2 separate regions of the Homo sapiens genome follow, and region 2 is linked to region 1. The links are contacts of gene promoters, found by promoter capture Hi-C in blood cells and fetal thymus (Javierre and others, 2016). All regions are on one chromosome and are shown on one strand. Each heading gives the region's core, a stretch centred on a gene start or on the middle of the fragment in contact. The rest is flanking DNA. Distances are from core to core; before and after follow the strand shown. Region 1 holds the start of EIF3B (eukaryotic translation initiation factor 3 subunit B). Region 2 holds the start of TMEM184A (transmembrane protein 184A).

Region 1 (4,259 bases), core at 500-2,999:
GATGGAGTGCAGTGGCAGGATCTCGGCTCACTGCAAGCTCCGCCTCCCAGGTTCACACCATTCTCCTGCCTCAGCCTCCAGAGTAGCTGGGAAATCCAGGTGCCCGCCACCACGCCCGGCTAATTTTTTTTTATTTTTAGTAGAGACGGGGTTTCACCGTGTTAGCCAGGATGGTGACCTCGTGATCCACCCGTCTCGGCCTCCCAAAGTGCTGGGATTACAGGCGTGAGCCACCCAGCCCGGCCCTCTGATAGCCTTTTAAAAATACGTTTAAATCATAAATTGGCAACTCCATGTTATTCCCGAAATTGTCCTGGTGTATCGCTGGCTACATCAGCAAGGGTATTTTTATTTTTCTCACTCTAGTATCAACTTAGCCAATCTGCAGAGGCTGATGTGTTCCCAACTTAAAGGCTTAAGAGAGCTAAAAAACAAAAGAAAAACAAATGAGACCAGCTCTCATCAGAAGTAGCTTCAGGAAAAAATCTCTGAGACAGGAAGCAAAAATATGCCTGTAAATCCAATCAAGGTTGAGATGAAGGCAAAGCTGGCTGTTATCGGCAATATTAAAACCTGGAAAAATAACTCTCTTTATAGATTTAGCGCAAGAGATAAAGAAAAATCAAACTGGAATTTCACAGGGTGCCTGTCCCACTAAGGAAGTCTCTGGAGATGGACAATTCTGAGGGGCAGGAGGACAAAATCACCGGCTCTGCCACAAGCTGTTCCTCCGATCCAGACCTTGGGAGGTCTGACTGGTCAGCTCTGGGGACACGTAGACCCGCAAACCTGCCACCGGGTCTTCGGTTTTTGCCGTACCCCCAGCTGCTACACTCACAGCACACCCAGCCATAACGGAGTACCCCATGTGCCCTCTCCCACCCTCTCAGATTTCTGGTTGTCATGCAAATGCCTGGCTCCCGAAGTGAGCTCCACCCTGTCCCCTTTTTCAGGAAAGAAAAGGGGAGGCGCTGGGCTCTCAGAACACTTCCAGGGCACTCGGGAACCCCTCCCTCGGTGGCTTCTCAGGAACACACGGACACCCTCGCTGGAACTTCTGCACGAACCGGTGGCACAGCCCGACGATATCTCCCACCTCGGGAACCCCAGCCACGCTCCCGCGCCGCTCGCCAGCCCCGCCCCGGGCGCCCTCACCTTCCTCGCTCACGTCGTCCACGAAGTCCTCGGGGTCGCTGAAGGAGGGCTCGTCCGCGTCGCCGTTCTCCAGCGCCCGGGGTTCGGCCTCGGCCGCTCTGCCCTCGTTTCCTCCCGCGTCCTCGGACACCGCCTGGGCCCGGCTGTCGGAGCGCTCGTCCCGAGCCTGCTCTCCTGGGGCCTCGCCCTGTGCCGGGACAGGGGGCTCAGCATGCGACCCGGGCAGCTCCTCGGCGGCCGGCGGCGAGGGCGACTCGGACGGGCCGGAGGCCGCCTCTGCCTCGGCCGCCGGCTCGGTCCTCACCTCGGACTCCGGCCCGGCCTCCGCGATCCCCACCTCCTCACTGGAGGCCTCGGTCCCCGCGGCCTCCGGAGCGCCGGGCCCCGCGGGCCGCAGCAGCCCCTCGGCTGGCGGCGGCTCGGCGGCCGGCTGCTGCTGGCCGGGCTCGGCGCGCTCCTCGGCCGCCTCGGGCACCGCCACGTTCTCCGCGTCCTGCATGGGCCCAACGCTGCCTACTCGCAGGGCTCCGCGGCCGCCGCGCTTCCGACTCTCCCAGGCCGCACCGCGCGCCGCGACGGCTACAGCCCAGCCATGTGCGTGCGACGGGGAGGCCGCACCAAGGCCGCGGGGCGGGGGGCGCACCCACGCCCTGGGGCCTCACGAACGACCCTGAGAGGACTCGCATCCACAAGACCGCGCCCGAAAATCATCAAACTGATATATTTGTGACAAGAAAGTGCTTAATTCCATTCAGCAAGGTTGTTTCTGTGCATCAGTAAACTCATGGGAGCATTGACCACCCCATGTGTGGCAGCAGATGGTTCCGTCCAACATGGCGTCCTCCCCCTTTCCTTTCCCGTCGGACGCTGCGGGGCGGGACTGAACTATTTGTGGAGCTGAAGGCGGGGACAAGAAATGATTTTAGTACCCGGAATGCTAGGAAAATGTCCTCTAACTCAACAGTTAATACCCTGGAAGAGTGGAGACTCAACAGGCGATTGCTCAGGGCGTCTGAGCCTTTCGCTAGGGAAACCGTTTAGTTTACGTTACTAAAGTCCCCCCTGTCCGTGTCTGTCACTTGGACTCGCCTACTGACTGAGCAAAAGGACAGACTACTTCAAAATAGAAAAGGAATTCGGGGCGAGCCAGAGAGGGCCCACACGACTAGAAGGACGACTGCCTGGCGCGATACAAAAATGTATGGAAGTTTCTTTAATCGCTTACCCCCAGTCCTTCCCTAGCGGCCGTCACTGCCTGTTTCCCCCCATTCGGGCTTTCACAGTGGTTCAGTCCATCCGAGGCCGCCGCCTTCAGCGCGGGACAGCGCGGGTCACGTGGGGGCGGGGGCGGGTCCTCGCCGCGTGGAGCTCGAGGCTGACTCCGGAGGGACCGGAGCGGTTCGCTCTGCGCGGGTGCTCACGGGACGGGCATTGGGTGCATGTGGCTTCTATCTTGTTTTTTGCCGGAGTGGAGGACAACCACTGGTTGGGGGATGTCTTAATCATCCTAGAAAACAACCCAGTGGATCACGCCTGTTATCCCAGCACTTTGGGAGGCTGAGGTGGGAAGATCGCTTGAGCTTAGGAGTTGGAGACCAGCCTTGCCAACATAGCACCACCACCCCCCGCACGCCAGCCCTCATCTCTACGAAAATTAAATAAATAAATAAAACAGGTGGTACCCAGAGGCTGGGGTGGAGAGTGGGGAGTGTTTATCGGGGACGGACCTTCAATTTGGGAGGATGAGAACGTTTTGGAGATGACGGTGGTGATGGTACAACATGGTGAATGTACTTGATGCCACTGAACTGTATACTAAACTTCATATTAAAATGGCTAGGCCCTGCGCGGTGGCTCACACCTCTCTTCCCAGTACTTTGGGAGGCCAAGACAGGAGGATCACTTGAGCCCAAGAGTTCAAGACCAGTCAGGGCAACATAGCGAGACCCTGTCTTCGAAAAAATAAAATAAAATGCCAAAAAGGTAAATTTTATGTATATTTCATCCTATAGTTTTTTTGTTTTGTTTGTTTTCAGAGATAGGGTCTCGCTCTGTTGCCCAGGCTAGAGTGCGGTGGCATAATCACAGCGCCGCTGCAATCGGGACCTTCCAGCCTCAAGAGAATCCTCCCACCTCAGCCTCCCAAAGTGCCAGGATTACAAGCGTGAACCACCGCGCAGGGCCTAGCCATTTTAATATGCAATTTAGTGTACAGTTCAGTGACATTAAGTACATTGCCAAGTACTTGGGACTGAAGGTATGTGCCACCGTGCCCAGCTAATTTCTTTATTTGTAGATAGCATCTCACTGTGTTGCCCAGGCTGGTCTCAAACTCCTGGCCTCAAGCAGTCTTCCTCCCTCAGCTTCCCAAAGTGCCGGGACTATAGGCATGAGCCACCACACCCATCCCATCCTAACGGTGTTTAAAAGAGCGAAAAAGAAGCAGAGTCTTCCCATGCCTAGTACCAGGTTTGACTACTCCTCATCATGCTGTCAGTGGTGTATCTTTGGGCAGGTCACTTAATGCCTCCACCTCAGTTTCCGCATCTGTACAATAAGGGATGACAATTTTTTTTTTTTTTATTTAGACGGAGTGTTGCTCTGTCGCCTAGGCTGGAGTGCAGTGGCACGATCTCGGCTCACTGCAAGCTCCACCTCCCGGGTTCACGCCATTCTCTTGCCTCAGCCTCCCAAGTAGCTGGGAATACAGGTGCCCGCCACCACGCCTGGCTGATTTTTTTTGTATTTTTTTAGTAGAGACGAGGTTTCACCGTATTAGCCAGGATGGTCTCGATCTCCTGACCTTGTGATCCGCCTGCCTCGGCCTCCCAAAGTGCTGGGATTACAGGTGTGAGCCAATACGCCTGGGAGTATGTTTTTTCTACATATGCATGCTTACAATAGGGCACAGTAAGAGATTAACAGCAATAACTAATAGAACAATTATAACAATATATTGTCATAAAAGTTATGTGGATGTGGTGTCTGGTGGTGTGTCTGTGTCTCTCTCTGTCAAATTTTCTTCATTATGTAATATTTTCCAACCTAATTGACCATAAGTAACTGAAACAGTGCAATGTGAAACTGGGGGTCGGGGGGGCTAC
Region 2 (3,899 bases), core at 1,101-3,600, 800 kb after region 1:
GCATGAGCGAGTTGGATGAGGGGATTCCCGGTCCCTTCCAGCTCTGCGCATGCCCAGGCACCAAAGTCTTCACCCTTCAAACGGGCCCCCAGCCATCGTCACTTCATAGTTGTCCGTGACGGTGATCCCGACACAGCCAGAGGGCGACATCCACACGCGCTGAGCCGACTGCCTGGGGCTCTGCAGGCCGGGTGGGAGGCCGGCAGGAGTACCTGTGGCTGCAGTGGGAATGCAGCTGGATGGAAGTTGGGGACCGCCTTCCAGCACCCCTGCCTGGCCAAAGGGAGACCTTAGCCCACAGGGTCACCGCCTCAGCAGGACAGCCCCCACCCCGCAAGCCCTGTGCCCCGAGCATGGACAGGGCACAGCTCTAGGCTCTGGCAGCTCCTGCAGAGGGAGGACCAGCAGCAAACACAGACAGGTGGACAGGGAGTCACACACACAGTGAGGAGGGTGATGGGACAGCGGGGATGGTCTCTCCAGAGGTGACGCCTGAGGCTGCAGGACAGAGTCACCCGGGAGCAGGGTCGGTTGGTCCAGAAGGTCCCTGCCTGGGGAGCAGGCAGGCTCCAGGAGGGCCCAGCCAGGGTGTGCATGCTGTGGCTCTGGGCCCGGGCCCGGGTGGGCGCTGATGGGGAGGTTAGGCAAGGCGGGCCTGAGAGCTGGGCACGACTTCCTGAGCTTGTTCCCCACCTGGGAGCCTCCCTGGAGGGACAGTGTCAGTGGAGGAGTTGGGAAAAGCAGGCAGGGTGTCCCAGGGAAGGATGGGCCTCAGCCCGGGCCCCTCACGGACCCCTCAAGGATGCTGGACGCGTTGATGCGCCTCTCGTTCCCATCTCTAAAAGGGGAACAGGCCGGACGTGGTGGCTCAAACCTGTAATCCCAGCACTTTGGGAGGCTGAGGCGGGCAGATCACCTGAGGTCAGGAGTTCAAGCCCAGCCTGGCCAACGTGGTGAAACCCCGTCTTTACTAAAAATACAAAAATTAGCTAGGTGTGGTGGTGGGCGCCTGTAATCCCAGCTACTCGGGAGGCTGAGGCAGGAGAATCACTTGAACCCAGGAGGCGGAGGTTGCAGTGAGCCGAGATCGCGCCATTGTACTCCAGCCTGGCGACAGAGCGAGGCTCCGTCTCAAAAAATAAATTAATTAAAAATAAAAGGGGAACAGTGGCTCCAGTCATTCCAGCCTCAACCCCTTGAGCCCTGTTGCTCAGGGCTGTGGGAGGGTAGGAGATATGAAGGACAAGGAGTGTGTGGATCCGTTGCGGGCATGGAGCGGGACTTGGTAATGGTGGCCCCAGCGGCATGAGCCCAAGCGTAACCAGAACAGGACAAGAGGTGGGCTGAGGGCCCACATCCCTCTCCCAGGAGCCGGGGTGAGTGAGTTTTTTCTCCACAGGGGCCTCTGCATGGGGGTGACAGGGACCCTCAGGGCCCCGCAACCCCTTGCCAGACCCCAAAGGGTCCAGGGACTGGGCTGTCACTCCCCCTCTCCTGCCTTGATCCACAAAAACCAGAAATATTTCCTTTTTTTTTTTTTTTTTTTTTTGGACACAGAGTCTCCCTCTGTCCCCAGGCTGGAGTGCAGTGGTGTGATCTCAGCTTACTGCAACCTCCGCCTTCTGAGTTCAAGCGATTCTCCTGTCTCAGCCTCTTGAGTATCTGGAATTACAGGTGCACGCTGCCACACCTAGCTAATTTTTGCGTATTTCGTAGAGACGGCGTTTCACCATGTTGGCCAGGCTGGTCTCGAACTCCTGACCTCAAGTGATCCACCCACCTTGGCCTCCCAAAGTGTGGGGATGACAGGCGTGAGCCACCACGCCCGGCCCAGAAAACAAATGTTTTCAACTCATCTCTTGGGGCGTGGATTTTTTTTTTAATTCAGATGAAATTCACATAACATCAATTTACCCAGGTTTAAGTGAACGATTCGGTGGCGGTAAGTATATCCACAGTGCTGTGTGCCTGCCGCCTCTACCTCATTTCAGGACTCCTGTCACCCCCCAGAGAAACCCTGTACCATTAGCTCTCCACCCCTCCTCCTGCAGCCCGGCCCTCCTTGGCCTGCCGCAGACCTCTCCCACGTGTCCCCACCAGGTGGCAGCTGCCTGGCCGTCTGGCATAGGCAGGTGAGGGCGCCAGGCGGCCAGCAGGTTCCTGGGAGCCAGCTGCCACCCAGCAAACAACCGGGAGGATAGGGTGTCAGCCGTGGGAGGGGACAGGAGGGGACGGGCCTGCAGCCTGGGGCCCAGGTGGGCCACTGGGGACGTGAGGCACTGGCCGCCCCGCCCCAGCCTGGCACAGCCCTTCAGATCCTGGCCTTGCCGCACCCACAGTGGGGCCTCCAGTTGGGGCCACGTGGCCATGAGAATGACCAGCTAGGCTTCCCTGGAGGCCAGGCCTCCCTGGACTGGGCCAGGTGCTTCCTGCCAGCAAAGGTAGAGCTGGGCCCTGTGACCGCAGACCAGAGGGAGAGGAGGAGGCTGGACTGGGCTGCGAGTGTGGGAGAGGGTGGACTCAGGGCCCCAGCAGGTTAGTGGGAGATGGAACAGGCACCCAGGGCTGCCAAGAACCCCAGCAAAGCCGGGCTCCCAGGTGGGTGGACAGGTCCCAGAGCCAGTGAGGGCCGGCTCCTCCCATGAGGGTGGCTGCACACCCCCTCCTGCCGGGGCAGGCAGTGCTGGTCTGCGCCCGCTCCCCAGCCCTCCCGGGCAGGCAGGGCGGCAGGGGTTCCCCCTCTTCTGCCCCACTGGAAGACGGTCTTTGTCCCCTAAGAAGCAGGCTCCCTGCAAGCCTGAGACTCGGAGTTGGAAGCTGGTTTTACAAGGGGGAATTGAGGTGGGACCCTCAGGTCGCAGGTGGTTGATGGGTGAGCTTCGATGGCTGAGCTCGGAGCAGGGAGGGAGCCGGGCCTGGCGCTGGTGTCCGTGTGGGGGGTGCGGCCTGGTGGGTGGCTCAGCCTCAGCTCCCGTCTCACTGTCTCCTCCCTCCCCCGCTGCTTCCTGCTGCCGGGAGCCAGTACCTTTGCCCTCACTCCTCCCGGTGTGTGTCCTCCCTCCCTCTGCAGATGAGTAATGTCTCAGGGATCCTGGAGACAGCCGGCGTCCCCCTGGTGTCAGCGAACTGGCCGCAGCCCAGCCCCCCACCGGCTGTGCCAGCTGGGCCGCAGATGGACCACATGGGGAACAGCTCCCAGGGGGCCCCCTGGCTCTTCCTCACCTCCGCACTGGCCCGAGGCGTCTCGGGGATCTTCGTGTGGACTGCCCTGGTGCTCACCTGCCACCAGGTAAGCCCTTCCGCCCCCGAGCCTCCTTCAGGACCTTGGTCTCCACAGGACGTGGCCGTGGCTCAGCCCGGTCCCCCTGGGTGCCGCTGCTATAGACGCTGTCAGAAGTGGGATCGGCCAGGGCACGGGGGAGGGGATGAGCTTCCCCAGGATGTGGCATGTGGGAGCTGGGCCTGAAAATGGGGAGATCTCTGCCAGGCTGAGGGCAGAGCGCCCACCGGGCACCCCTGGCTATTTCACAGGCTCGTCACTCGGCTCACTGAGGTCTGCAGTGTGGTCCCATTTCACAGACAAGAAGACTGAGTCTCAGAGAGACCAGAGGTCTTTCCCAGGCTCACATAGCTGGAAAGGGGAAGGGGCCTTCTCCTTCCAGAGGCGTGACACCCTGGAGAAGGCTGGTGGGAGGTTGGCAGGGGGTTGGACTTTGCTCTGTAGGGAGCTGGGGAGCAAAGGTCACAGCTTGTTAGAGGGACCGGGACTCCTGTGCAGGAGATGGGCGAGAAGCAACTTCCCCAAGCCCGAAGCCACACACAGCCCCCGACCCGGAGCAGTCCCCAGGTGGGAACAGAACAGCCCCCAGGTAGAGAAGCGGCCAGGCGCTGTGGCAAGG

The links. The method cuts DNA at HindIII sites, captures the fragments that hold promoters and counts their contacts. A CHiCAGO score of 5 or more calls a contact.
Region 2: a contact is called between the fragment with the promoter of TMEM184A here and the fragment with the promoter of EIF3B in region 1, in 3 of 17 cell types (non-activated CD4 T cells, naive CD4 T cells and naive CD8 T cells). The highest score is 7.5, in non-activated CD4 T cells.

What each region holds. Positions count from the first base shown.
Region 1 is chr7:2,352,317-2,356,575 of GRCh38, reverse strand. EIF3B (eukaryotic translation initiation factor 3 subunit B) reads right to left here and starts at 1,749. Exons shown (of 19, transcript NM_001037283.2): 1 at 1,156-1,749. The coding sequence starts at 1,654. It also overlaps a transcript of SNX8 not described here. RefSeq lists silencers at 1,293-1,402, 1,453-1,542, 1,723-1,862 and enhancers at 2,663-2,732, 2,403-2,958. The HindIII fragment of the contact is 9,918 bases long and covers 1-4,259 here.
Region 2 is chr7:1,554,656-1,558,554 of GRCh38, reverse strand. TMEM184A (transmembrane protein 184A) reads left to right here and starts at 2,350. Exons shown (of 9, transcript NM_001097620.2): 1 at 2,350-2,441; 2 at 3,071-3,289. The coding sequence starts at 3,071. RefSeq lists silencers at 2,075-2,164, 2,205-2,274, 3,642-3,824 and enhancers at 1,932-2,731, 2,868-3,162, 2,732-3,532. The HindIII fragment of the contact is 30,451 bases long and covers 1-3,899 here.